Linked DNA regions of Homo sapiens: regions 2, 3, 4 and 5 are each linked to region 1. Evidence: promoter capture Hi-C in 16 types of primary human blood cells and fetal thymus (Javierre and others, 2016). All regions are on one chromosome and are shown on one strand. The core of a region is centred on a gene start or on the middle of the fragment in contact, and the rest is flanking DNA. Distances in the headings are between cores, read along the strand shown.

Region 1 (5,670 bases), core at 2,165-4,664:
CTTTTCTTGGAAATCACTGTATTTTCTCATTCTGGATTGTCTACCTTGATGCCTTTTTCTTTCTAACTTGTCTGAAAAATACTTACTTAGCTAGATAAGGTCAGTTCACTGTCTTCTTTTTTAAGCTCTCATAAGATTTTTCTCATGAGAGACCTCTGTCTACTACAAGGATCTGTTTTCTCTATTATCTTCACACCCCACCCCATTCTCTCCATGAAAACATTCCACAATATCATGTTATAGAAAATAAATTAGGAAAAAAACCCAGATTCTAATTTCAGTCCTTTTACTTACCAAATACATGACTTTCACCAAATCATTTAACTCACCTCTGAGTTAGTTTTTTCATCTGCAAAATAGTGATATGCCCTAAGACACATACTTAAGAGGTTGAAGATCAAATGCAATAATGCAGATGAATATGCATTGAAACTGTAGTTCTATAATATAATACAGAAGGTATTATCCATTCAACAAAGAGATAGAAGATAAAGGAATCTGAATTCAAACTGCCAGAGCAGGAATCCTGGGTCAATCATCTACTAGCTTTACCTTTTAATATGTAAAATGAGTATTACAGCACCTATTTCATATGACATTAGCTTAACGATGTTGGCTACTATTGCTGTTACTAAATGCCTACTGTGTTAGGCATTCTATTAGATACTGGTAATAAAATGGAATTAAGACTGACAGGGCTAATATCTGTGCCAAAACCTCTATCTCCTACTCCATCTACTACATTTTCTAAGTCATTTATGTCATATGTACTTAACAGCAAAGAAAAATCTAAGTAGTAAAGCATTTCCATAGAACATCAAGATAAGAGTCCAGAATTCCACTCTTTCTTTTCTATAATAATTTCCAGTAAACACTATAGTGATTCTAGTATTTCTTTTCCTAATCCATCACTTGAGTTGAAACTTTCCTGATGACTTCTGGGTAAACTATCTGAGATGTTTCTATCAAATGTAAATAATCTAAGGTAGTATTTCTCAAAGTAACACCTAAAGACCATCTGCTTCCCAATCACCTAAAATGCTAATTAAAAGGCAGATTTCTAGGCCCTCTTTCAGATCTATTGATTCCAAAGCTCTGGCTGGAAGATGGGAGAGTCTGCATTTCTAATAAGTCCCTGTGTGATTTTTATGAAAACCGGATGTGAGAACCATGTTCCCAAGAGGGAAAAACTCCCACTACATAAGAAGTTTATAAGGCCGGGAATGGTGGCTCGCTCCTGTAATCCCAGCACTTTGGGAGGCCGAGGCGGGCGGATCACGAGGTCAGGAGATCGAAACCATCCTGGCTAACATGGTGAAACTCTGTCTCTACTAAAAATACAAAAAATTAGCCGGGCACGGTGGCAGGCGCCTGTAGTCCCAGCTGCTCGGGAGGTTGAGGCAGGAGAATGGCGTGAACCCGGGAGGTGGAGCTTGCAGTGAGCCCAGAAGGCACCACTGCACTCCAGCCTAGGCGACAGAGCAAGACTCCATCTCAAAAAAAAAAAAGTTTATAGCCAAAGGAAATTCTGCGCAATAATGATCCAAAGCTTCATAAAGGAGAAAAATTTTAATCCTCAGAATACATTTTCACATGCTTCTGTTAACAGGGTGGAGACAACAATTCATGGAGACTGAGACCAAAAGTGACTTGAATATACGCACCCTAATTGTGTGTGTTCAATAAATTCCTATTCTAGAGGCCAAGAGAACGGGTGGAAAGGGGATACACTGCAAATGCTTACTTAAATTTCAGAAGAAGGAAATAAAACTTATTGCAATAGTCAGGTAGGTCTGTTAAAACTGAAGTTTCATGATCTCAGAAAATGGAACCACTTTCTCTTAAACTCAGCTAAGTCATGACAGACCTCCCCGCTCCAACTCTCCATGCCTACCACAAACCTTGGATAATCTCCCAAATGTAAACCTTGTCTACCGTATCCTGTGACCATTAGAACAATCAGAGGCAAGGAGATACACGGTCTTTTGATTAAAGTAAACTGAAATAACCAATTAAAATTTACATTTGTGCCTCTCGCTCAAATAAACAGTTATAGAAGAGCTCTCACTGAGATGTGGAACAGAATCAAGCAGCTCTGAACTTTTCAAATAATAACAACTGTTATTTCCAAATAACAATTTCTAAATAACAAGCTGATGAACAAAATATTTATTTACCCACCAAGCCACAGTAGCCTGAGACATTCTCTGGTTCAGATAATAAAATAAATGCCTTAGAGGGCTTTCGTTCCTAAGATGCTGGTGAGTTTAGCACTGTGACTGCAAGAAATCGGGAACCTACGACAAAAAGACGCCCAGCCTGCCCACACTAACCGTCCAGAACTAGGTCTGGAGCAGCAAGGCGGGCGGGGCCGCGATTTCTTCCGCATCGCTGCGCCCGTTCTTCTCCGCCTGCGTGAGCACCGCCCACCCACTCGCGGTGTGAACATACTGGGTCTCGCCTCTCCTTTCCCCTCCCCTCGGCCTGGTGCTGAATCATGAGCCCAATGTCTCCAAAAGGTAAAATCAAAGAACAAAGCCACCCTTGGGGCTGGTCTGAATGGGGTACCACGTCGGGGTGGGGCAGAAGGCTGGAAACCACAACTTTGCTCTCCTTCTTCCCCAATTCCCCCACCCAACCCCCAAATTAAGAGGAGTACTGCAGTGCTCAGGAATTCCCAAGAGGGTGGCCCTTCTCCCAGTTGCTCGGTCTGCTACCGTCCGTCCGGGACCCGGCGCGCTCCGCCTCATTGTTCCAGCGCGCCGCCCGCCGCCCGCCGCCGGGAGCCCGCGCCCTGCAGAGCCAGCGAGTTGGCGGCTCCCGGGGAGGGGGGTTGGGGCTTGGCCTGCTCTAGATCCCCGACCCCTCGCCCCTCTGGGGCCGAGTAACAACAGCCCCCTGCCCACCCCCATAGCCTTCCTCCCAACCGATCGCTAAGGCGGAACCCACAAGTCCCCGGAGGCGCCTGGTGGGTGCTGTCCAAATGCTGGGAGGAGGCGGGAGGGGGGTGGGGAAGAAGGAGCTGGAGGCCCGGCCTGCGCGAAGCTGCAGCCCTCACCCCGACAGCGCGATTCGGTGACGCGGGTACCGCTCGGCCATGGTTCCTCCGCCCAAACAGGGAGCGGCTCGGCTACGGCCCGTCTCCCAGCCGTGGACGCAGGCACCTAGCAGCCCTTGGCCCTCCCTGTCTCCACAGAAGCAGAAAGTGGAGGGCCAGAAGACCCCGTGCAGGCTGCAGAAGTTCTCATTTGCTACTCACCCCAACTGTTTCTGTCCCTGCGGTTCTTGGCCATGGTGGTCCAGGAGCTGGTGGCGGTGAGGCGCTGTCACTGCGCTCGCTGCCTTCTCCGGGGCCGCAGGTTGCTGGCGGTGGGAGGCTCCGTGCCCGCGCTGGGCGCAGTTCGCTCAGACTCTGAGGATGTTGCTGTGGCGCTGGTGGGAAGGAGTGGGGAGGAAAAGGGAGGAGAAAGCAGATGAACCAAGCTCAGCATCACAAGCCCGAGTTCACACAGATACCAGCGTCACACCCTCCCTACCTCAGTCCACCCCCAGACCGTGAAGACAGTGATAGACCACGTACCGCAACATTTTCAACGGAAAACACAAACAAATAAACAGCACCCCCCTCGAACACACTCTCAAAGAATTTAACAGCGTTATCAGAAATACACAAACCGATATACTGCATGATTCTGGATGTTCAAATACCTGTTTCAAGCACGGTTATACATTAGTACAAACAAGCTGGCAACATTTATATAGCCAAAGTAGCTAAAATAATGTGCATTTATCTACGAGGCACCCATTTTTTTTTCCATTTTAAAAGCAAGGTCATGTTAGTAAAGAGGGTATCATGCATTTTTGTATATGTATACTGAGTAGTTTGTCTTAAAATTAGAATAGCAAAATTTATATCAAGAAGATCAAGATAAATGAAAGCTGTAGATTCATTACGATCTGTAACTCAATATCCACTGGGTAAAATTTCCCACTAGATTTGCAAAGATAAGGTCCAGACCTATAGTCCAATAGCAATTATTTGAGCTGAAATCATACTACATAGTCTGGGTATGGGTGGGCCCTGGCAGCCATAAAGGTTGCAGACAATTTTGAAAGGAAAAGAAAAAAAATAAAAATACTTTCAATCTTTCCCTTTTCACTGCTTTCTCTCTGCTACAAACTTAGTTGTTTTCAGTAACCTGGAAACACTGTCCCTTTATACTACCTCAACCTCAAGATACCATCATGCCGTCCCTTACAGTTTCCTTCTGCCATTTGGTTGTTACTCACACTCTGTACTGATCGGTTCTTAGGAGATCACTGCCAGCCTCTTAATTACCAGATCCATGATCTCTGCTAATTCCTCATGGTAAGCAACTCCTCACGCTACACTCTCTCAATGTAATTTACTATGATGGCTTCAGACAGGACCTCCATGCTGATGATTCCCAAATCTATACTTGTAGTCTTCTGCCCTCTAGAAGAGAGGACATTATACCAGAGGTGTGTTTATAACTGCCTAAGGTTATCCTCACGTTGTTTTCCTACTGACATTTGAACATCAACATATCTGAAAACAAACTCCCCCACCACTGCCAAATCTTATGCATTATATTTCAGTTACTGGTTCTAGTGACTGCAGAGTCGTGAACACTGTAACCAAGTTTACAACATGGTTTTAAAGAAGTCTGTGCTCAACAGAGTTGAAATGACATTAATGAAACAACATAGGAAGACAGACATTATCTCATCCTTATACCTATAAACCAAGTTCATAGAACAAAAGAGAAGTGTGGTCTGCTTTTCTTCTTATATTCCTTTACTATCATTCTCAGCTTACATTCCAGCCTGAAAATCCCTTTCATATGAATCCCATTTTTAAGAGTACAATAGATTACACACAAAAAAGAAAAAATTTATATAATTCAACACCTATGCCCAATTGAAAAAGAAATTAATTTTTTAAAAACCTGTTGTGTTTATAATTAGTAAGTAATCTGCAGGTGAATACTTTGAGACTGTGTGAATCACAAAAAAATGCTTAAATAAATAGCTCTCTGTATGTGACTTTTTGTACTATTGGCCAATAACTTTTCATCCACTGATTTTAGCATCCATTGATCCTTGCCTGAATCAATTTCATATTAGTGATTTTTTAAATGGAGGCTTTAAAATCATTATCTGTTGTTTGTTTGTTTTCCAGACACAGTCTCCCTCTGTTGCCCAGGCCGGAGTGCAGTGGCGTGATCTCAGCTCACTACAACCTCCACCTCCCAGGTTCAAGCGATTCTCATGCCTCAGCCTCTCAAGTAGCTGGGATTACTGGCGGTCGCCAGCACGCCTGGCTGTTTTTGTATGTAGAGACGGGGTTTCTCCATGTTGCCCAGGCTGGTCTCAAACTCATGAGCTCAAGCGATCTGCCCACCTCAGCCTCTTGATGTCATGTCTTTTAAATTAAGTAGCTGGCATTCCCTCTCCCACTTTTCTATGTTGAGTCCCTCTATAAATTAATGGAAGCTTTTAAAAAAATTGTGCTATGCATCACCATTCTTTTTAATGCCTAAATTCCCCTAATTTGGCTGAGGGTCAGCTCGTGTGTCCTTTTAACATTGTCCCTTTTTGTCTTTGAGCAGTTCCCTGTATTCTGGTAAAAGAAAATGTTTCAGGTTC
Region 2 (5,670 bases), core at 1,092-3,591, 250 kb after region 1:
CACACAAAAGGCTGTACACTCATGTTCACAGCTGCTTGATTCACAATAGCTAAAAACTAGAAACAACTCAAATGTCCTTCAATGAGTGAACAGTTGAATGTACTTGTATTAGTCCATTTTCACACTGCTGATAAAGACATACCCGAGACCGAGAAGAAAAAGAGGTTTAATGGACTTACAGTTCCACATGGCTGGGGAGGCCTCACAATCATGGTGGAAGGCAAGGAGGAGCAAGTCACATCTTACATGGATGGCAGCATGCAAAGAAAGAACTTGTGCAGGGAAACCTCCCGTTTTTAAAACCATCACATCTTGTGAGGCTCATTCACTATCTGGAGAACAGCACAGGAAGGACCTGCCTCCATAATTCAATCACCTCCCACCTGGTTCCTCCCACAACACATGGGAATGGTGAGTTACAATTCAAGATGAGATTTGGGTGGGGACACAGCCAAACCATATCAATACTGTAGTACATCTACATTATGGAATACCACTCAGTAATAAAAAGGAAGGAACTACTGATACATGTAACAGTTTGGATATATCTCAAGGGATTATGCTGAATGAAAAAGAGTCAATAAAAGTTACATACTGTATAATTACAATAATTACATTTATGTAACATTCTTGATATAACAAAATTTTAGAAACAGAGAATAGATTGGGTGGGGCTGCAAAGGTAAGTTGTGGTTATAAAAGGGCAACTGGAGGGACCCTTGTGGTGATGGACCTGGGCTGTACCTTGACTGTGGTGGTGGATACAAGAATCTACACACCTGATAACCATATAGAACTAAATATACACAGAGAACACTAATACAAAATGAGGAATCTGAATGAGATCAATGGATTGTGTGAATGTCAATTACCTGGTTGTGATATGGTACTAGTTTTGCAAGATGCTACCACTGGGAAGACTGGGTAAAGGGTACACAGAATCTCTATTCTTACAATTGCATGGAAATCCACAATTACCTCACAAAGTTGAATAACCATCTCTTTTTTTCATCTGTGATGGAACAAGCAGGCAATATTCTACATTGTTTTAACAAATAAAGCAAACTATGTACCACTGTTCTGGTGGTAAAACCCTTTAACCATAATAAATGTCATCACGTAGCAAATGCTTCACTGTGCTAAACACCTGCTGACCTTATCTCGTGTAATCCGCTCAACGGCCCTAAGACTAGGGAGACACTGCTATCATTCCTAGTTCACTGAGGAGGGTCTGAGGCAAAGAGGTGAAGTGATTTCCTGGAGCTACCTGACCAAAGACTGGAACCAAGATTCTTAGAGGCACACGAAGTCCTTCTGGTAATAAATCTGTATAATTCTATTTGTTATGTTCAGCTGTCCTAACCCTAAAAATTAAAAACTGCCATCAAGCATACAGAATGAGTGTTAGCAACACCGGCACAGTGACAATTTTAAAGAGTTAGAAGGTCCTTTAGAGATTACACAGCCCATCGCCCTCATTTTTACATAAAGGGAATCAGGTGAAGTGACCTGCACAGGTGAGTCGCTGCTCAGAGACCGCACAGCACATTTAAAACTGTATCTCGGTTCAGTACTCAAGAAAAGGACACAGACTTATAAATGGTGGCAAAAACCGAGCTGTCTGGTTCTTCCGGTACCCAGTGCCGGGTCGAGTACAGAGCAGGCGCTCCATATTTACAAGACGAATCAATGACTGAATGAATAGCACCGCCAGGAGCCCCATAAAAGAAGTCCAGAAGACTGCGGGCTGTCAGTCTTCGCTGTGACAAAGAGCCTCCGTGAGGAGCGAGGATTAGGGCCGGACAGGGAGCGCCCTTCTAGTGGACGCTCGACTGGGCTGGGGCCGGGATGGAGACGGTGGGTGCCCAGGCCCTCCGTCTACCGCGGGCCGCGTGCGGGGCCGAGCGAGGACCCGGCTGGAGCTGGAGCGGGGGCGGGGCGGGGGCGGGGCCGAGGGCGAGCCGGAAGAAAGAAGCCGCAGGGCCCGCCCAAACAAGAATTTTCACCGTAATCCCGCCCAGAGTTTCTCCCACGGCCCCATGTCCGCATGGCGGTGAAGGTCGAAGACGCGCGACCCAAAGGGCCAGGTTTTCAGTCAGCCCAGCGTTGGCGACGGGCGAGGGCAGAACACAACCACCACCCTAGTCCCGCCCGGCTCGGGGCCTAGCTTCTCTACTCACAGCGTCGGAGGGAGGGAGGGAGGGAGCGAGCCAGCGTCCCCGCGTCTGCGGCACCCTGGCCGGCCCTTCGCCCTCCGACGCGCGCGCCTATTGGCCACCGCAGCCTCTCCCACATGGGGCGAAGGCGCGCCACTTCATTGGCCCCCGCGTGAGGGGCGGGGCTAAAGAGCGCGGGTCCTCGGCCGTGGAGGGTCAAGTGGCTTCTTCTGAGCGCTGAGGGAGGGGAGCGTGCGTAGGGGATGGTGCCAGCGCTGCGTTATTTGGTTGGTGCCTGCGGACGGGCCCGCGGGCTTTTCGCCGGTGGCTCCCCTGGGGCGTGCGGGTTCGCGTCTGGGAGGCCAAGACCGCTGTGTGGAGGTAGCCGCAGCGCCAGCACCAGGTGAGTGGCCGCTGGTCCTCCCCGCCGCCTGCGCTGCTGCCCCTCGCGGAGGCACCTGGTGGTGGACCTGTGCCCCTGTTCGTATTTCCCTGTCCCGGGGTGAGAGCAGGTTGGGGTCCTGTGGCACTCCAACCTCGGATCCCAGGAGCTACCAACCTGCAGGTTCATTCGTTGTATTTACGGGCCGGAGGAAAGGCAGTGTATAGAGTAGAGGTCGGGAGTAGCTCTGGCTTTGAACAACCCGTCCACTTTCTGTTGAACTCTGGGCTAGTTACTTAACCTCCTTAAAGGCTCAGTTGTGAATTGGACCTTAGTCTCTCCTGTAGGTGGTCATTTGAAGGATAAAAGGACCTAGCACACAGTATAAGCAATCAAATATGCTCTTTATAAGCTGGAGTCTTTGGCGTTGCTTGGAAGATCTGAATACAGTCTTAAATCAGTTCCTGGCACACCCCGCATAGTGTTGCCCCCGTCGGAGGCAGCTCTTATGCTAATGAAAGCCCGCAGAATTCAGTGTCCTGTGATTTATAGTTTGGACGTCACATTCGAAACCATTGTCTTTCTCTGTCCTCTGTAGAAGAAACAGTTTGTGTGAAGGCTGTAAGGCTTGGAGAGGTTTTGGCTATTTTGACGACTAGAAGGTGGGCCATATGAGTGTGACTGAAGTTTAGTGGAAGACATATGGTGTGGAATGACCCAGAAGGACTACATCACAGCAAGGTTTTTAGTTTATTTTAACCACACGTTGACTTTTATTCTAAGAGCCACGGGAAGCTATTTAAAAGGGTTTTAAGAAGAGGCTACGCTTTAGGAGGCCGAGGCGGGCGGATCGCCTGAGGTCAGAAGTTGGAGACCAGCCTAACCAACATGGTGAAACCCCGTCTCTACTAAAAATACAAAAAAATTAGCCTGGCGTGGTGGTGGGCGCCTGTAATCCCAACTACTCCGGAGCCTTAGGAGAATCGCTTGAACCTGGGAGGCGGAGATTGCAGTAAGCTGAGATCGCACCATTGCACTCCAGCCTGGGCGACAGAGCAAGACTCTGTCTCGCAAAAAAAAAAAAAAAAAAAAAAAGAAAAGAAAAGAAAAAAAGAAGAGGCTAATAATTAAATGTTGATGTTCTAAAAGTTGACTCTGGCTGCTGCGTGTTGGTGGATAGGGGGAGTAGAGTGGGATACCAGTAATAGCGATTGTGATTTGTTATGGGGCATGTGGACAGTTCTTTTGGGAAGCTTTTCTTAAGGAAAGAAAAGTAGGGCTAGTGAAAGTTTTGTTTATACTTAAAATGTTTTTTTAAAAAATTTTTGGAGTCAGGGTCTCACTGTGTTGCCAAGGCTGGAGTGCAGTGGCACAATCATAGCTCACTGCAGCCTCCACCCTCCTGGGCTCAAGCGATCCTCCCTCCTCAGCCCCCCTCCCCAATGCTTCCTGTCCTCCAGGAGCTGGGACCACAGGCAGCTAATTATTTTCCTATTTTTTTGTAGAGACGTTGCCCAGGGTGGTCTCGAACCCCTGGCCTCAAGTGAACCTCCCTCTTCAGCCACCCAAAGTGCTGAGATTACAGGTGTGAGCCACCGTGCCTGGCCTATACTTTTATTTTGAAGTAATTATAGATCCATTGGAAATTGCAAAAATAGTACAGGCCAAGCGTGGTGACTCAGGCCTGTAATCCCAGTGCTTTGGGAGGCTGAGGCAGGAGGATCACTTGAGCCCAGAAGTTTGAGACCAGCCTGGGCAAAATATAAGATCCCTTCTCTACAAAATAAAAAATAAAAATAAATAAACAGTACAAAGAGATCCCATGTACCCTTCACCCCATTTACCCCAATGAAAACATCTTATATAACTATAGTACAATATCAAAACTAGGAAATTGATATTGGCAAAATCCACGGACATTGTTCAGCTTTCATCAGTTTTACATATATTCGTGTGTGTGTGTGTGTTTAGTTCTATGCAGTTTAATCATATGTATTAATTTGTGTAACTACCACCTCAATTAAGATATGAAAATGTGGCCAGGCATGCTGGCTCATGCCTATAATCTCAGCACTTTGGGAGGCCGAGGTGGGAGGATAGGTTGAGCCTCAGAGTTGGAGACCAGCCTGGGCAACAAAGGGAGACGGCAAAACCCCTGCTCTACAAAAAAATTAAAAAATAATTAGCCAGGTGTGGTGGCTTGCTCCTGTAGTCCCAGCCACTTGTGGGGCTGAGGCAGGAGGATCGCTTGAGCCCAGGAGGTTGAAGGTGTGGTGACCTGTGATTACACCGCCGCGCTGAAGCCTGGACAACAGAGCAAGACTCTCTTAAAAAAAAAAAAAAGGGTGGTATAAAAATATTCTATTGCCACAAGGTTATCTGTTGTGTTACCTATCTCTTTATATTCACACCTTCCTCTCCATTCTTCCTAACTCTTGGCAACTGTGAATCTAAATTTTTTTTTTTTTTTAACACGAAGTCTCGCTTTGTCACCCAGGCTGGAGTACAGTGGCATGATCTTGGCTCACTGCAACCTCTGTCTCCTAGGTTGAAGGGATTCTCCTGCCTCAGCCTCCTGAGTAGCTGGGATTACAGGCATGTGCCACCACGCCCAGCTGATTTTGTATTTTGAGTAGAGATAGGGTTTCACCGTGTTGGCCAGGCTGGTCTCAAACTCCTGACCTCAGGTGATCCACCCGCCTCAGCCTCCCAAAGTATTGGGATTACAGGCATGAGCCACTGCACCCGGCCTGAAATTTTTTATATCACCAAATATTCAGTATAAAACTTTTAGAAAAAGGACAAGATCTTTGGACATAGAGATGACATCAAAAGCATGATCTCTAAAAGAAAAAAATTGACAAAATGGACTTCATCAAAATGAAAAACTTTTGCTCTGCAAAAGACTGTTAAGAGAATGAAAAAACTACCAAGACGTGGGAAAAAAATACCAGCAACTGCATATCTCCCAAAGGACTAATACACAAAATACATAAAGAACTCTCAAAACAAGCCTTTGGAGATTGGCTTTTTTTCACACAGCATACTATCCTTAAGATCCATGCAAGGCGTCGCCTGTATTGATAGCAGGTTTTTCAAAATTGTTGAATAGAATTCCATGGTATGGATACA
Region 3 (5,670 bases), core at 2,265-4,764, 230 kb after region 1:
CATGCTAACACATTATAATTAGTGTACAACGAGGAGTGAGGACAACCAGACATCACTTTCATCACCATCTTGGTTTTGGCCGGCTTCTTTACTGCATCCTGTTTTATCATCAGGTCATTGTGACCTATATTTTGTGCCGACCTGCTATCTCATCCTGTGAGTAACAATGCCAAACCTCCTGGGAATGCAGCCCAGTAGGTCTCAGCCTTATTTTACCCAGCCCCTATTCAAGATGGTGTTGCTGTGGTTTCAACACCTCTGACATAACCAACAAAAACTGAGTCAATTCCTTGGAGTATGTAGTTGTGAAATTTAATCTAATCTATCCAAGAATGAGCTCCATGGCCTACTTAGTTGCAACAAAAATAGTTAAGAATGATGTAATATAAAGGCATGTACGTTATGCCTCTCCTTATATACATGATCATATATACTTATAATGCATCAACTATTTCTGGAGGGATACACCAAAAAAAAAAAAAAAAAAAAGTAGCTGATTTTAGAAGGGTGAAGGGAACACCTACAGTGGTGGAGACTTTGCTGTATGCTGTATTAACTGTATTTGTTATCATGTGTAAATATCATTTTTAAAATAAAAACACTAGTTTTTACAAAGTACATGCAAGGGACCAAACTGGCTAAATGGATTACCCCATTTGGCCACTGAGGTAAACTCTAAAATTATATCTTACTCTCCCAGGGCAGAGTACCAATTGCTTCAAGAACAGAATAAGGTGGAGAAAATGATTTTTCATTACTACTTCTAGAAACTATTTATTTAATATGTGAGTGCCATTTAGGAATGACTGGAAGGAACTAAAATCATGACTGGTGTGTTTTCCTGCCTTTTCCCCCTTCTTATTGCAACTGAAGTTTCATCTTTCAAAGAAGAAAAAAATGACATTAATAAGTTAATACAATTTTGAAGAAGTAAGAAGAAGGAATTTTCTGTTCTTTTAGGGCTGTCTCCACATGGACCCTACTCAAAGGCTGACATGTGAACAGCTGTTGCATCACCCATATTTTGAAAACATCAGAGAAATAGAGGATTTGGCAAAAGAACACAACAAACCAACAAGGAAGACCCTAAGAAAGAGCCGAAAGCACCACTGCTTTACAGAAACATCCAAGGTTATAATTTGAAATGATCTCCTACCTGCCACCTGGTACAGAGAGTTGGAATCTAGACTTGAGGATGGCAGTTGTGGCTTTCAGCTCCAGCATCCTCATTCCAGCACTAGGAGACAGGTCATAGGATCTATCAACCAGGGCCCCAGGGACATCTGTCTCCTGAAGCCCCCTCTCCCTGAATCCTAAAGGTGCCCTTGTCCTGCTGCTTCCTGATGCCACACAGGGGCCAGGGTTTCCAGCCTGCATGAGCACAGGTCTCAACAAGGTACATGAGTATGAGTCCAGCTAAGGAGACTTTTTGGGCTTTGGAAAATGAAATCAGATTTTCCCCATGCAGTTCTGTGTCATCATGTACACTTTTAGTATTAAAACTAACACTCCAGGTTTGTCCAAAAAAGGAGCTGTTTTCCTCCCTGATCCTTTGTCAGAGTTGGCTAGGGCAAATACAGTGATGAGTGCTTTTGGTGGTATCAGCTGAATACATTTAACCAGAGAACAGCATCCAAACTGCACACTGGGAGACTGTGAAGAATCCTGATTGGTATAAAATGGCCTTACATTAAGCATCTTGTGATAAGCCAAAAGCTGTAATAATTTAGAATGAACTGTAGTTGGAACCACAACTGATCCTGGGTAACCTCAGGATCTACCTAGGTACTCCTTAAGCTATACATTATCTTGCCTTAGTCTTTCTCTTTGCAGCTTCCACTGCCCAGCATGCTGAATGGTACCAGGGTGTGTTGTGTATGAGGCTGGGAGGAGGGAAAAGGGTGAAAAAGGTCCATGAGGAACAAGTACAGCATGAACTCCAGGGCCCTAATGTAGATCACAGTTACAAAATTAATGTTTTATTCTCCATCATATGTGACCCAGGTAGCACAACAGGCCAGAAACAGACTCCTCCACCCCCACGCCAGAATTATTCCTTATCTCAGTATTAGTTTGTATTCGAGAGCAAAAGGTTTTGATGGAAATATTTCTATTTGAAAAAATAGGGAAACTCCACTATTTGGTGTATTGATTTTTTTTGAGACTGAGTCTCACTCTGTCGCTCAGGCTAGAGTGCAGTGGTATGATCTTGGCTCACTGCAACCTCTGCCTCCCAGGTTCAAGTGAGTCTCCTGCCTCAGCCTCCCCAGTAGCTGGGATTACAGGCATGTGCCAGTATGCCTAACTAATTTCTATATTTTTAGTAGAGACAGGGTTTCGCCATGTTGGCAGGCTGGTCTCGACTCCTGACCTCAGGTGATCCATCCGCCTTGGCCTCCCAAAGTGCTGGGATTACAGGCATGAGCCACCGCACCTGGCCTGGTGTACTGCTTTTAAATCCTGAAAGAATCAACTGATTTAAAAGTACTAAAAAGCACTTTTCTGAGGACAATGGCTGAAAAATTTTTTTCTAGAAAGTAAAAGTACTAAACAGTTCCCTTTTTAGGGATACCGAAGGACATATAGTGCAATACAAAAAATACAGGTGTGTTCTTTCATTTGACATTGACAATAAATTCAAACATTTTCAGGAAGCTTGAAGGAAGCAGTTTGTCTTTTTTCTTTAGAGATGGGGATCTTGCTATGTTGCCCAGGCTGCTCTCCTGGGCTCAAGGGATGCTCCCACTCAGCCTCCCTTGTAGCTGGAACTACAAGTGTACACTGTGCCATGCTTGATTTGCCTTTTTAACTAAGGGAAGAGAGTGAGTAGGCAAATTGCCTAGGTGCTCTGTTTATCAGTTTTCTCCGCTATAAGACAAGGCATTGGCTTAAATGATCCCTAAGATCTCAGCAAGCTCTCAACTCCTGTAAATCTATGTTTTCTTCCCAATAATGTTAACATGTAGATTTTCCCCTTTTCATATTCTCTAAATCTTCTTTAATGTGAATGTTTTTCCTTTTTAATATAAACATTTAAAAGGAAAAGCCAAGACGAAATTGAAACATTTAATCCTCTCTCAAGTCCTGGATTGTGTGCAAAAAAAGTACTTCTATACTAAAAAGCTTAATTACCTCTTTTGTGATATATTCTAAATAATGAAAAAAATGCATGGCACAGTTTTGAACCTAATTCTGTGTTTTGCATTTTTAGTTGCAGTACCTACCCCAGCTAACTGGCAGCAGCATCCTTCCAGCTTTGGATAATAAGAAGTACTACTGTGATACCAAGAAACTTAACTACCGTTTTCCAAACATTTAAAGGAGCTAGGAGACATGATTTTAAAAAAGGAATCAATAGATGCTTTGAAGAAAATAAAACTTATACAGTTGATTGAAAACAATTACAATGTTGAAAACACACCAGGAGAAAACATAAGCAAGAAACTGGGAGGCCAACTGGCAAGATATGAAGGGAAATTCCAGATCCAGTCTTCCATGCTTGATGATGGTGTCCAGAAAAGAAAAAACCTGTTTGGAGTTGCACTTGTATTTCAGTTTATGTAAGTAGCCGAACTTATGGACAGAATATGAACTGTCCCATACCTCTGGCAAAACTAGATGATATCAAAAAGATTTATGCTTCAGTTGTACCACATGCCACACAAGAAAAATGAACCACAAAATGCCCATATATATTTCCTCGGATCTCTGTTGCCTGAGTCCTATCTCCTGCCTCTCAGATTGTTTCAGCATCATATTTAAGATAGTTCTATTTCTTGAAATCAAAATGTTTAAAATCCCATTTCCTGCTTGCTCTATTTCTTGATTTTTATATTTTAAAACATTTTGAGGGTAACACTTAGGTTCAAAATATTTAAAAGCATATGAATTATCACAAAAGCTTGGTAATTTATAATTTAATTATATGTTTCCACATTTCATCCTTACTTTATCAGTAAAGGATACACCTTAGTCACTTTTGCAGGCAACGTGGATTTACTGTAATCTGTCTACATTTATTCACCCAATTCCCCTTGTAAACAATGGCATGAAGCTCGGCAGCTGATTAAGGCAGTCAAAGGGTAGAGCAAGACCTACAGGCTTTGCAGGAACTGAACCTATCAGCCTGAAAATAATTAGTATTTCATTCTCTCTGGCACAGCCTTTGACCTGGTACATCTATAGGCAAACCTGTAATTCAGTGATCTGGGTTTCAGAAGAAATTACTTGTGAGCTTTTACTTGAGTCATGAAAGACATTATGTTGTAAACTGATGTTTTCCCTGAAACATCTTTTTGCACTATGTTTGTATGTGTATGTATGTGTATGTATATATATATATATATATATATATATGCTATTCTAACAACTAATATATTACACTAAGTAGTCCAAAGTATTGAGGACTCATAGCTTTGCACAGTGAGACTTAAAATGATGACACACACACACATATATATATATGTGTTTTTTATATATATATATAAAACCTGCCACCTCAGCCTCCCAAGTAGCTGGGACTGCAGGCATGTGCCACTATACTGGCTAATTTTTTTGTATTTTTTGGTAGAGGCAGGGTTTTGCCATGTTCCCCAGGCTGGTCTTGAACTCCTGGGCTCACGTGATCTGAGCGCCTTGGCCTTCCAAAGTGCTGGCATTACAGGCATGAGCCACTGCGCCTGGCCAAAATGACATAATTAGCTTTGATTTGGTCTACTGCTCTTAATCAAAAAGCTTTTTCATCCTTGTCCCCTGGACACAAGGGCAATATGAAGCCTGACGTCTGTTTCTTACAGCTCAACACCATTTCTGGTTGATGTGCTGCCACTATTCCTAGCACTTCTCAGCCATGGTCTTCAAAGTTGTATTTCACTCTATTTTCAAAACATTTCTTCTGTACTCTCATTTTCTTCCTGTTAATTTTCTTCATGATGACATCTGACCCCATTTACTTAAGTAATCCACTGAGGTCTGGTGTCTACTCAATAATTTTGACTACCCTAGGCAGTTTAATGATATCCTAAGGCTTCCTAATGTATGTCTTTTCTTGCCTAGACCTGATATGGGTTAAATGCTAGTCCCTGAATTATTCAATTCCTGTTAGACGGCCTTGATTCAAATGACAAGGAAGAACATCCAGCTTCCGTGAATAGTTAAAAAAAAATTTTTTTTTCCTTAACCCAAGAAAATACACTTGACGGAGGCAGATTACTATAACAGCCTAATAATTCAGCCAATAGTTTTACCAAAAACTATTCAGAATAGAAAAGTAGCTCTAGACTAAATCGTGGTGAATCAGTTGTCTCACCATACAGTAATGAAACAAACCTGAGAAAAAAGGCTTATTTTTTTCTAATGAGTTCCGTTAAATTTATGCTTATGTTCAATTTAACCATATTTATAATGCTTTTATTCGGTATGAAATCTCCACTGTATCACATGAGACTCTTCCACATCCTTTTATTTACTATTTTCTGATTTTTAAAATGACAGTGGCAATTACCATTTATACTGTGTTATTTGTATAAGCTGTTAAACACAACATTGTTAAACACAACGAAAATTCATTTTTCTACCTGAAAGCTGTATCATAGAAAATTATTTTCAAGTTTATATTCAACAGCTTAATAATGTTCAAACCAGGCTGGGCGCGGTGGCTCCCAGCACTTT
Region 4 (5,670 bases), core at 1,913-4,412, 190 kb before region 1:
AGAGGCTACAAAAGTTAGAGCCAGGGTTAGTAATGTCTTCTTGTTTGGATGAGCCAGCTACTGAGTTTTTTGGAAATACTGCGGAACAAACAGAGCAGTTTTTACAGCAAAACCGAACGAAGCAAGTAGAAGGTGTGACCAGGCGGCATGTCCTAAGTGACCTGGAAGATGATGAGGTCCGGGACCTGGGAAGTACAGGGACGAGCTCTGTTCAGAGACAGGAAGTCAAAATAGAGGAGTCTGAAGCTTCAGTAGAGGGTTTTTCTGAGCTTGAAAACAGTGAAGAGACCAGGACTGAATCCTGGGAGCTGAAGAATCAGATTAGTCAGCTTCAGGAACAGCTAATGATGTTATGTGCGGACTGTGATCGAGCTTCTGAAAAGAAACAGGACCTACTTTTTGATGTTTCTGTGCTAAAAAAGAAACTGAAGATGCTTGAGAGAATCCCTGAGGCTTCTCCCAAATATAAGCTGTTGTATGAAGATGTGAGCCGAGAAAATGACTGCCTTCAGGAAGAGCTGAGAATGATGGAGACACGCTACGATGAGGCACTAGAAAATAACAAAGAACTCACTGCAGAGGTTTTCAGGTTGCAGGATGAGCTGAAGAAAATGGAGGAAGTCACTGAAACATTCCTCAGCCTGGAAAAGAGTTACGATGAGGTCAAAATAGAAAATGAGGGGCTGAATGTTCTGGTTTTGAGACTTCAAGGCAAGATTGAGAAGCTTCAGGAAAGCGTGGTCCAGCGGTGTGACTGCTGCTTATGGGAAGCCAGTTTAGAGAACCTGGAAATCGAACCTGATGGAAATATACTCCAGCTCAATCAGACACTGGAAGAGTGTGTGCCCAGGGTTAGGAGTGTACATCATGTCATAGAGGAATGTAAGCAAGAAAACCAGTACCTTGAGGGGAACACACAGCTCTTGGAAAAAGTAAAAGCACATGAAATTGCCTGGTTACATGGAACAATTCAGACACATCAAGAAAGGCCAAGAGTACAGAATCAAGTTATACTGGAGGAAAACACTACTCTCCTAGGCTTTCAAGACAAACATTTTCAGCATCAGGCCACCATAGCAGAGTTAGAACTGGAGAAAACAAAGTTACAGGAGCTGACTAGGAAGTTGAAGGAGAGAGTCACTATTTTAGTTAAGCAAAAAGATGTACTTTCTCACGGAGAAAAGGAGGAAGAGCTGAAGGCAATGATGCATGACTTGCAGATCACGTGCAGTGAGATGCAGCAAAAAGTTGAACTTCTGAGGTAATGTATGTACCTTCTAGACGTCACGAATCCCACAGAGCACCTCACCAGATCTAACTTCCACTGCTTGCCGTGCCTAGAGAAACTAACCTAGTAGTCTTCACGAAGAGAGCAGTACTCTCTAGACTTCCTTCTGCTTCTGTGCCGTATTAACAAATAAAATAACCTTGTTTAGGAGGCATTCCCTTCCGCTGTAGCAAACAAGTGTTCATATGGGGTGTGAAAGTTCACAATGGCGAGTGTTTGCTGTTTAACCATGTGCATCCTCAATGTACCTCTTTAACTTTTTTCTAGCACTTATTTCATTTAGATGGATAGGGGATTTTTTTTTTTTATTTTGCTAAGTGTTACTTTCCTCATTTTGAGGAAACATGTTATATACAAATGAATGATTTTTTGTGTATTATTAACTTAGTAGATAAGAACTCACTTCTTATGCTAATATAGAAAAAATGTTCTGTCTTTATAGTTTTGTACTCATATCACTTGAAGCACATGCTGATAACCCATAAACAGTGCAAATGGTCAGGCACCATGGCTTAAATGCCTGCAATCTCAACTGTTTGGGAGGCCAAGGCAAGAGGATTTCTTGAGGCCAGGAGTTTCCAGGCAAGCCTAGGGAACATAGCAAGACTGCCTCTACAGAAAAATAAAAAAATGTTTGCTGGGCGTGGTGGTGCACACCTGTGGTCCCAGCTACTTGGGAGGCCGAGGTGGGAGGGTTGCTTGAGCTTGAGAGGTCAAAGCTGCAGTGAGCCATGATCATGCCATTGTACTCCAGACTGGGTGACAGAGTGAGACCCTGTCTCTTTTAAAAAAAAAAAAAAAAAAAAAAAAAAAAAAGAGACAAAACAAACAGTGGAAATTTATCTTAGAACATATAATTTGAGGAGCCTCCAGATTCTAATAAATATGCTTGAAAAGCAGAGATACAAGTAGAATTAATTTGAACCACTGCCCACTTGACATTGTAAAATATAATTGCATAGTCTTCTAGCAAATTTGGTTTTTCAAAAAAAAAAAAAACTTGTAAACTATTACAGGACGTCTGAAATGTCTCTGAAATAATTTAATTCTGAATGTAGTTTTTCCTCTTCTTCAGACCATTTTTAGTCCTAAAAATCAGAATATAATGAGATGAATAAAATCACAAAGTAAACAGTGTACATATTTCATTGTGGCCCTTTGATTTCAATAGAGAATTTTCTTTCCCTAGGTACCCAGGGGCCTAAAACTAAGCTAATATAGCTTTGTAACATGGCTTATGTGTATTCAGAACAGGTAGGACTTGAGACTGAGATAAATGAAGACATTTGCTCAAAGCAGTATGCTTGCCATTGAGAAAAATCAACAACCAGAATGAGCATTGAGTCTTGATTCATTTCTCCAGGCTTAAGGGTTTTTTAGCTACACTTCTCTAACATCTTTTAGTGAAATTCTTACTTCCCAAAAGAAATGTGTCAATATGTCATAACTCGATTTCCAAATACTAAGAGACTACTAATTTAGACTTTTCTTTTTAACTGGCATTGAATACTCATCCTTTTGGAAGTTACTAGAAAATATTTTCCAAAGATGCCAGATGACTGCCTTGTAACAATTTTTTTCAATCTCTGTGCTTCAGATATGAATCTGAAAAGCTTCAACAGGAAAATTCTATTTTGAGAAATGAAATTACTACTTTAAATGAAGAAGATAGCATTTCTAACCTGAAATTAGGGACATTAAATGGATCTCAGGAAGAAATGTGGTAAGACGTATACTTACATTTTCCTAAGACATTTTTGCAAAGACTAAAATTCTTTTACTTCAGCTTTTAAAGCCTAACCATTAAATTTTATTTTCATCATTCCTTTTAGGCAAAAAACGGAAACTGTAAAACAAGAAAATGCTGCAGTTCAGAAGATGGTTGAAAATTTAAAGAAACAGGTAAGGAAATACTTAATATTTCTCAATGTTTTTTGATTCCAAAATTTTCCCATTTTTTGAAATTTATAAATTTACAGCACACGGTAATGAATAGCATATAGCTAATGATGGTAAGGTTGTAAATTCTGAATTTGAAAATGGAAACTTACCTCATACTGACTCTAAACTAGCTTCCTGTTTTATGTTAAATAATGTATATATTATTCTAGGCCCTAAGTGCTTGATAAAGCTTTATCATCAGCAGAATTGAGGAGGTGATACCTCTAAAACCATACCTACGAAATATTAGCTGTAGCCCTTGTGCAGTTTCAGTTAATGTTAGCCCTTCCTTTTTCCTCACCATGATTGAAAGCAGAAAGTTAAGGGCAGAATTTCACATATACAGAATGCCAGCTAATCAGCATATCATTTCACAGAATTACATTTTATTCAGATAGCTGGTGCCATTCAGTGCTCAATTTGTATAATCTTACAACATGCAGTTATAAAAAGGGAAGGCCATTTAAGAATCTGTCTGAAGCAGTCAAAAGACAAGGACATATTGGGAAAGAGTATTTTCAGCACTTGAAATAGACAAGGTGTTAACATCCAAAATGTATTTTGGACTCTTACAAATAAATGGGAAAATCCAGTTGAAATATAGGCAATCTATATGAATGGTCAAGTCACAGAAAAAAAAAAGAATACAAAAGATGGTTAGCCTTATTAGTGATTAGAGAAGTGCAAATTCAATAAGCGTCTTTTTTTTAACCTATTGAATTAGCAAGAAGTAAAGATTGATATCTAGTATTTAAAAGGATGTGAGGAAATGACTGTGCCCATGCATTGTTGTTAGGATTATAAGGTGGTAGCACTGTGAGGAAGACATATTAGAGATATCTGTTGAAACAATAATGAATATATATCTATATACAGATCTTCTAACCCAGCAATCCTACTTCTAAAAAATAATTCTAAATACAAAATACTACCATGTATAAATGGATTTTCTAAAAGATCCATTTAAAAGAAATAATGATTTTAAAAACTTTATGTCTATCAACGTGGGAACAGATAAATGCATTATGGAATATCTTACTACATGGAATATCCTATAGCCAGTAAAAAGTAGTATGTGGTGGTTGCTGAACACACTGACTTGGAAAGAGTCTTTTTTCCTTTTGAGACGGAGTTTCGCTCTTGTTGCCCAGGCTGGAGTGCAATGGCGCAATCTCAGCTCACTGCAACTTCTGCCCCCTGGGTTCAAGCGATTCTCCTGTCTCAGCCTCCCAAATAGCTGGGATTACAGGCACATGCCACCACACCCGGCTAATTTTTGTATTTTTAGTAGAGATGGGGTTTCATCATATTGTTCAGGCTGGTCTCGAACTCCTGACCTCAGGTGATCCGCCTGTCTCGGCGTCCCAAAGTGCTGGGATTACAGGCGTGAGCCACCGTGCCCACCTGGAAAGAGTCTTTAAGTAAGTAAGTAGAAAAAGCAAGCTGTCCAAACATAAAATTTCCAAATTTTGCTAAAGAGAAGAAAAGAATCTGTATGTGTGTATGGGTTCTGTATATGCGTAGAAAATGATCTGGAGGGACACATATCCAGCTGTGGACAATGGGCTCCCCTGTAGAGTGGGGTCAGACTGAGTGTCTCACTTCTTCATACACTTGTGAATGGAATGAATTTGTAATAATGAGTGTGTATTATTTCTGTTTTGAAATATATATATATTTTAAACTTTATATAAAGAGGGAAAAGACAATTATGTCTCTAAATCTGTTTTTTTTTTTTTTTAGCACAAGTAGGGTAACAAGTTTGAAAAACTTATTTTAATTTTAATTAGATTTCAGAATTAAAAATCAAAAACCAACAATTGGATTTGGAAAATACAGAACTTAGCCAAAAGAACTCTCAAAACCAGGAAAAACTGCAAGAACTTAATCAACGTCTAACAGAAATGCTATGCCAGAAGGAAAAAGAGCCAGGAAACAGTGCATTGGAGGAACGGGAACAAGAGAAGTTTAATCTGAAAGAAGAACTGGAACGTTGTAAAGTGCAGGTATGGCCTGTAGCCACCTGACAGCTTTTTTTGAGGAAATCCCAAGAAATAGAAGAAATGTTTGTATTAAACTTCCTTAAACATAAAGCCTTAGTAATTAAAACAGTATGGTCCTGGCACATGAATAGATAAGTAGGTAAGTGGAATAGAAAGTCTAGAATTAGACCCAAATACAAATGGAAACGTAGTGTATAACCAGGGCCACTTCTCAAACCACTGGGGTAAAGATGGACTTTTAAATTAATGGTGCCTGAACAACTGAGTAGACATTCGGAAATAGATAAAATTAGACCTATGTTTCATTCCATGCACAAGGATAAACTTAATTGGATTAGGAGACTAAATATAAAAAAAAAAAACTATACAAATATTTGAAGAAAATACGGGTGAATTTGTCTTTAACCCTGGTGTAAAGAAAGGCTATTTAACTGTAAC
Region 5 (5,670 bases), core at 2,246-4,745, 160 kb before region 1:
TTTGCCAACTCTATGTTCTTTGAATTATCTTTTTTTTTGTTTTGCTTTGTTGGGCAAATAGACATCATTTTGTATTTATGTTTGAACTTTAAAAAGCTATTATTTTTTTTTAAATATAGGCCTTTTTAAAAGCTAGATGTCCTCCAGGCCCAATTTTTTGTAACTTACTTCCTGCATTAGACCTTTGCCTATTACAATTTTTATCCTCCGGATAGTTACTACATGATTTAGGGTTTCTTTTATGATTAAGTGTTACTACTTAGTATCTAAACAGATGGTAGCCTTTGACTCATGTTTAGTCATTCTGCATGTCTTTTAAAGTATATCTTAACTACCATCAGCTGTTAATACCTTTATGAAATCTGAAATTCCTTATGGGGACATTTTGGTGGACTGCAGAGGGATGGGGGTTGCATTCTAATAAGTCAATTGCATTCTAATCTCTCTAGGTCTCTCTCCTCTCCAAAACTCACTTACTCCTTAACCCATCACCGTTGTGTGAGAACAGGAGATTTTTCATTTTCAATCTGCTCTGATAGTAAACCCATCCTCCAATCCAGATGTGTGCTTCACATTTACAAGTGGGAAACAGATGACTAGAAAAATTGGCAGGAAGAGGCTATTATGAAGAAAGAAACTTACCACCCTCACAGTCATCAGCCACTTCAAAGGAAAAACAGACATGCATATTGCAAGCTGATTGGTTATGTTAGGAAACCCTGAATATATTCAGTGCTTGTTTTGTTGTTGAGAGGCCCATAACATTGCAGAGACCCAGATCACAGATGGGAGGTTGATAGCGATCTTCCAAGTTACCTTGGATGTCCATTTTACTAGAGGTACTCACAGGTATTAAATTATGGGTTTTCAGAATTTTGCTTTATATCAGGGGGATGATGGTAACACAGGTAAGATTCTTTTGATTTTTCAGTCTGATCCTTTATCTGATAGGGTTACTTTTCTGACATATGCAATCCATGCAGGGCTCAAAACTCTCATTTCATGAGAAATCCATCCTTCCTGTTACAAAGGCAAAACATTTGCTGTCCTTTCTCTAGGCATCTTGTGGGGAAAATAAACCAGTGTTTTCAGTGTGACATGATTTTCGAATAATATACTTTTCTTCCCTTCAGGGAAACCAGGAACAACTGGTAACTGTCATGGAGGAACGAATGATAGAAGTTGAACAGAAACTGAAACTAGTGAAAAGGCTTCTTCAAGAGAAAGTGAATCAGCTCAAAGAACAAGTGAGCCTACCCGGTCATCTCTGTTCACCCACCTCACATTCCAGCTTTAACTCCAGTTTTACATCCCTTTATTGCCATTAACTCGTTAACTTATGTTGTCTAATAAAGGCAAATTCTATTATAAATGTCTGTAAGAACTTAGGATTTGCTATCCCTCATATCACCCCAAAAAATACGAACTCTGTATTTTTTCCAAAGCTCTGTTTAAGGCATGTTTGTCCACAATTTAAAAGTGTAAATCTTTGCTAACATGATTTACATGGACCTAAGATTTTAAAGATCAAAAAAAATCTATTGATTCACATAGACCTAAAGCATGTCCATTCACATGCTTTAGGTCCCTGTGAATCAACAGATTTTTCTCTGCCCAAGACAGGAAATATTCCTATTTAAATTGAAAAATGATATTGGTTAAAAAAATAGGGGGATAATAAATGGAACTTTAGCTTTCCTGTTCCCAACAGCTTATGAAAACCTCAACAAGTATCTTATTGCTACAGCTAGACTCCAAAAAGATGTACTTTGAGTTAGAATCTAGACCCCAGATTCCAGGACCACTTAAACAGCCTGCTCCTTTTCACCTGCTGGTGGCAGATGTGGCCTTGGTGTTTAGAAATTAGTTGCGCATCCACTGAAGAGACAAGCAGAAAGTACTACCCTCTGGGAGAGTGTTATAGCCTCTCTGGAAACTGAGATGAACATGTGGGGTGGGGGGCAGAAAATGCCCAACCTAGTTCTTTAGATACTTAAAAGCTAAGAATAACAACCCCAAGAGAGGGTCTGAATTCAGCTGTAGACAGCAACTTTTGGTTGTCCTGTTTCTTAATACACAGGGAAGAAAAAGTCCCATTCAGTGAGCATTTATCCATTCAGTTCTTTACATATTCAAGCATTCAACACATAGTTACTGTGGGCCAGGTCCTGCCGTGGGCACAGGGATACAACAGTGAACAAAGCCCCTGCCCATATAGAATGCACTTACAAGGTGCCAAGCGTTTGGCCAAATGGTAGGTTCAGAAATAAGTGGGATCCGTCCTGTTTTCAGTAGAGGAGAACACAAGAGAAAGACATATTTGATCCAACCCAGGAGTTTAAAGAAAGCTTCCTGAAGACCTCTGAAGCTGCATCTTGAGAGTTAAGATTTCAACTAGTTAAGAAAGTGTGGGGAAGGGTATCCTAGGCTGTGGGAACATCATGGAGTTATGACCACATGTGGGGTGTGGACACGTATAAACACTTCAGCATTGCCAGTTCACACTGTCCTGGGAGAAGCAGGAGGAGAGACTAGAGAGGAAGGGGGAACAGGACAGTAGGCCTCCAGTGCTGAGCCAAGAAAGAAGCTTGATTTTTATTCTGTCGGCAATGAAGAACCATCAAAGTGTTTTTTTAAGGAAAGGAAGAGAGGGAGGGAGGAAAAAAAGTTGTATTCAGGAAGTTCAACAGAAAATATGTTCTGAAATGTTATGTGATGTCTGCCAGTCATCTAGGTTCTGAGCTTGAGAGTGCTGTCATCCTTATCCCTGCCCTTTGAAATGCTAATAGGTTGTTAAGCTACTCTTTAGTTACTCTTTATTCTCATAAACCTTTATACTTTTAGATGCCCTACTTGAAATTGGGTGTAAAATGAACACTTGTAACATGGGAAGGGGGACTGGAAAATATTAACCAGAACAACAATGAAAGTATCCCAAGGCTGCTAACAAGTTTTCCCACCCCAACCTAGACCATATATTCTAACTATAAAGATTAGACTAGACAAGGCCCCATGCAAAACAAAACAAAAACAAAGACAATTCAGGAGAAGTAACTGCCCAAATCTTATCTCTGTTATAATACATGAGCTAAATTTTAAAATAATCAGTGGGTTGTAGTTACGAATGGTAAGTTCAAGTATCTGTTGTTACAAGCAGAGTTAAACAGTCCACACCTGACACCTCAGGAATTTAAGTTATAAAAGTATTTGATATTTTTAAAGAATAAATACAGAAATAATGCCTATTTAGGTAGAAAAAAAACTTTTGGTGCCATCTAATATCAATCTGTTCTATTAGTAACTGACATAAACATCTCATGCAAAGAAATAGCTTAGAAAAAGTAGATTTGTTCCAATGGTGTCCCTGATGCCAAGTCTGATGTTAAAGCTATTTTGTAAAATAAAAGAATATAATTAGACGAAGTGATTTGCCTTTATAAAACAACTGTCCTTATGTCAGACCTTAAACTGAAGGTTTAAGAAGAGTTACAGAAATGGAGTCAAGATGTTTCTGGTTCTGTTTCTAGCTCTGCAAGAACACTAAGGCAGACGCAATGGTGAAGGACTTGTATGTTGAAAATGCCCAGTTGTTGAAAGCTCTGGAAGTGACTGAACAGCGACAGAAAACAGCAGAGAAGAAAAATTACCTCCTGGAGGAGAAGATTGCCAGCCTCAGTAATATAGTTAGGAATCTGACACCAGCGCCATTGACTTCTACACCTCCTTTGAGGTCATAGCCAAACCAAAGGGTACACTCATATTTGTGCACTTTACTGAAATAGATGAACATTTCAGTAGGTTCTCAACTTAAAATTAAGCCTAACCTAAAACTGCCAGCAACACAACTGGAGTTTCCATTTATCATAATTAGTTTTTCTAAATAGACCCTTATGGGAGTTTGAAAATAAATACTCACATATTTCACTACTTAAATTATTCCCAAGATTTGAATTTATTTTAAAATTTTAATAGCCACCAAGAATGTGGACATATGAAAATTCAAGAACCTAAAAAATACCAGTTTTGAATGAGTTTTTGTGGTTTTGGTTTTTTTTTTAATTATTACAAATCTATGTGTAAAATCTAGATATTTGAAGTTTGAGATCTGATGAGAATGGTTGTTATAAACTTTATTTTAAAACCAAATTTAGGTGTTCTTACATATTTAAATACTGGAAAGTCATTATAATAGTTTTGGTTCTTTGAATTGGTAGACAATTAGTAGAGTATAATTGGTTAGGAGGCAGGGCTTATTAAGTGGTTATTAACCGCTGACATCAGACAAACCCAAATCTGTAGAATTCTAACCTTCTAACACCTGTGACAGTATTACCACTCTTCTTGTATTATAGATTTAGAACTGATTTACTCAATTGCACTCTTAACTAATGTTAAAAGCTTACTTGCTTTAAACAGCCTTTTCTTCTTTCTCTTAAAAGTTTCATTTGGGGAGCTGGTCTTCTAAGAAACGGATAAAGCCACATAATTAAAGCAGTTGAACTATAGGGAAAGCACTGAACAAACCACTTTGGAGTAAATAGCTACTCTTAGAAAAGAGGGATAAGCAGACCATGTAGGTTTTCTGTCTCTCAAATCTTAGAGTTCATAAATTTACTTGAGGTTGCCTCAAGAACTCAGGGAACAATACTGTAAACTGTCTTCCTGAACTACTGTAGGGCCTCTCTAAGAATTTGAAATGTATAAACCATGTGACCTCATTTATTTGTCTTATATATTTACAGCCATACTAGAATTTTTATTTCTACGTTTTTAGTAAATTTAATATTCTGGGGGAAAAAAGGCCTTGATTTTAGGGTTAAAAACCTGACTTATAGAAGAGTTTATTTAATATAGGTCAAAATTTTCTGTGTTTCTTATTCCTTCTATACCTCAAATCTGATTCTAAGAATTTCTTACTGTGATAATCATTGGCATGCCACCTGAGGTCAAGGAGTGCCAAATAGGACTTTCCACTCATGCTCAAGATCAAAACTTTATAGAACAGTCAACATTTTAGATTCGGTAACCTTTTTTTTCTTCCAATTATAATCTCTGCTAGCCACTTCCGCCAGCAGTTGGTGGAAGACTTACTAGGTGCAGGGCACTTTCCAAGTTCATCACAACAACCTGCTTGTTTTCATGAGACAATAATCCGAAAAGTTCGCTTTGATATATTCCTGGAGGGCCAAGCCCATCTATTTACAAAAGGTGAACAGCAAAATCAAGCACTGCTTTATGGGCAGGAACACAAGAGAAAGCAAACTGCCCAAGAAGTCATCATGTCAGAAACTCAATCTCAACAAAATAATTTCCATCAGGGAACTTCAGGGTTTCTTGGGGGCTTATGAGTCTCACCGGTCAACCCAGGAGGCCTCACTACAAGAGCCTTGACAAGGCACTGTTTTTTGTGGGACTGGGAGTTCACACTGATGAAGCAAACCTTTGAATTTTTGCACAGCTCTTGTCAGAAAGCCCTGAGTTCCCCCTGGATAAAGAGTTAATTTTAATCCTTCCCTATAATTATACTTCAAAATATTTGACATCTGCTATTATGCCTTCTTTAGATCTTTCTTCTGTGGTGCAGACATTTCTAGTAAGTGTTTGACTACTTGTATGGCATTAGCTTTCACAGAAAATTGTTTCACTTAAAACTGTGGATTGGCCTAGGCT

The links. Contacts are between HindIII fragments. The CHiCAGO score rates a contact against its expected background, and 5 or more counts as called.
Region 2: a contact is called between the fragment with the promoter of L2HGDH here and the fragment with the promoter of ATL1 in region 1, in 16 of 17 cell types (naive B cells, fetal thymus, M1 macrophages and 13 more). The highest score is 7.7, in naive B cells.
Region 3: a contact is called between a fragment that was not itself captured here and the fragment with the promoter of ATL1 in region 1, in 2 of 17 cell types (M0 macrophages and total B cells). The highest score is 5.4, in M0 macrophages.
Region 4: a fragment that was not itself captured here is called in contact with the fragment with the promoter of ATL1 in region 1 in 1 of 17 cell types (megakaryocytes); the score reaches 7.9 in megakaryocytes.
Region 5: a contact is called between a fragment that was not itself captured here and the fragment with the promoter of ATL1 in region 1, in 1 of 17 cell types (megakaryocytes). The highest score is 5.2, in megakaryocytes.

The regions. Positions count from the first base shown.
Region 1 is chr14:50,557,889-50,563,558 of GRCh38, reverse strand. It overlaps ATL1 (atlastin GTPase 1), which reads right to left and starts at 3,414. Exons shown (of 14, transcript NM_015915.5): 1 at 3,260-3,414. The coding sequence starts at 3,293. It also overlaps a transcript of MAP4K5 not described here. RefSeq lists a silencer at 2,720-3,079 and an enhancer at 2,821-3,320. The HindIII fragment of the contact is 3,968 bases long and covers 1,552-5,519 here.
Region 2 is chr14:50,308,900-50,314,569 of GRCh38, reverse strand. It overlaps L2HGDH (L-2-hydroxyglutarate dehydrogenase), which reads left to right and starts at 2,341. Exons shown (of 10, transcript NM_024884.3): 1 at 2,341-2,559. The coding sequence starts at 2,420. It overlaps DMAC2L (distal membrane arm assembly component 2 like), which reads right to left and starts at 2,246. Exons shown (of 6, transcript NM_001382507.1): 1 at 2,181-2,246. RefSeq lists silencers at 1,862-2,091, 2,152-2,281. The HindIII fragment of the contact is 12,145 bases long and covers 1-3,793 here.
Region 3 is chr14:50,327,723-50,333,392 of GRCh38, reverse strand. It overlaps CDKL1 (cyclin dependent kinase like 1), which reads left to right. Exons shown (of 10, transcript NM_004196.7): 9 at 961-1,131; 10 at 3,212-5,670. The coding sequence ends at 3,319. It overlaps DMAC2L (distal membrane arm assembly component 2 like), which reads right to left. Exons shown (of 6, transcript NM_001382507.1): 6 at 5,436-5,670. Among named protein-coding and RNA genes, the nearest start is that of DMAC2L, 18 kb to the right of the region's middle. The HindIII fragment of the contact is 778 bases long and covers 3,126-3,903 here.
Region 4 is chr14:50,752,083-50,757,752 of GRCh38, reverse strand. NIN (ninein) reads left to right here. Exons shown (of 31, transcript NM_020921.4): 18 at 1-1,261; 19 at 2,886-3,011; 20 at 3,121-3,190; 21 at 5,020-5,235. Among named protein-coding and RNA genes, the nearest start is that of NIN, 76 kb to the left of the region's middle. The HindIII fragment of the contact is 518 bases long and covers 2,904-3,421 here.
Region 5 is chr14:50,721,530-50,727,199 of GRCh38, reverse strand. NIN (ninein) reads left to right here. Exons shown (of 31, transcript NM_020921.4): 30 at 1,134-1,247; 31 at 3,528-5,670. The coding sequence ends at 3,737. Among named protein-coding and RNA genes, the nearest start is that of SAV1, 56 kb to the right of the region's middle. The HindIII fragment of the contact is 1,811 bases long and covers 2,590-4,400 here.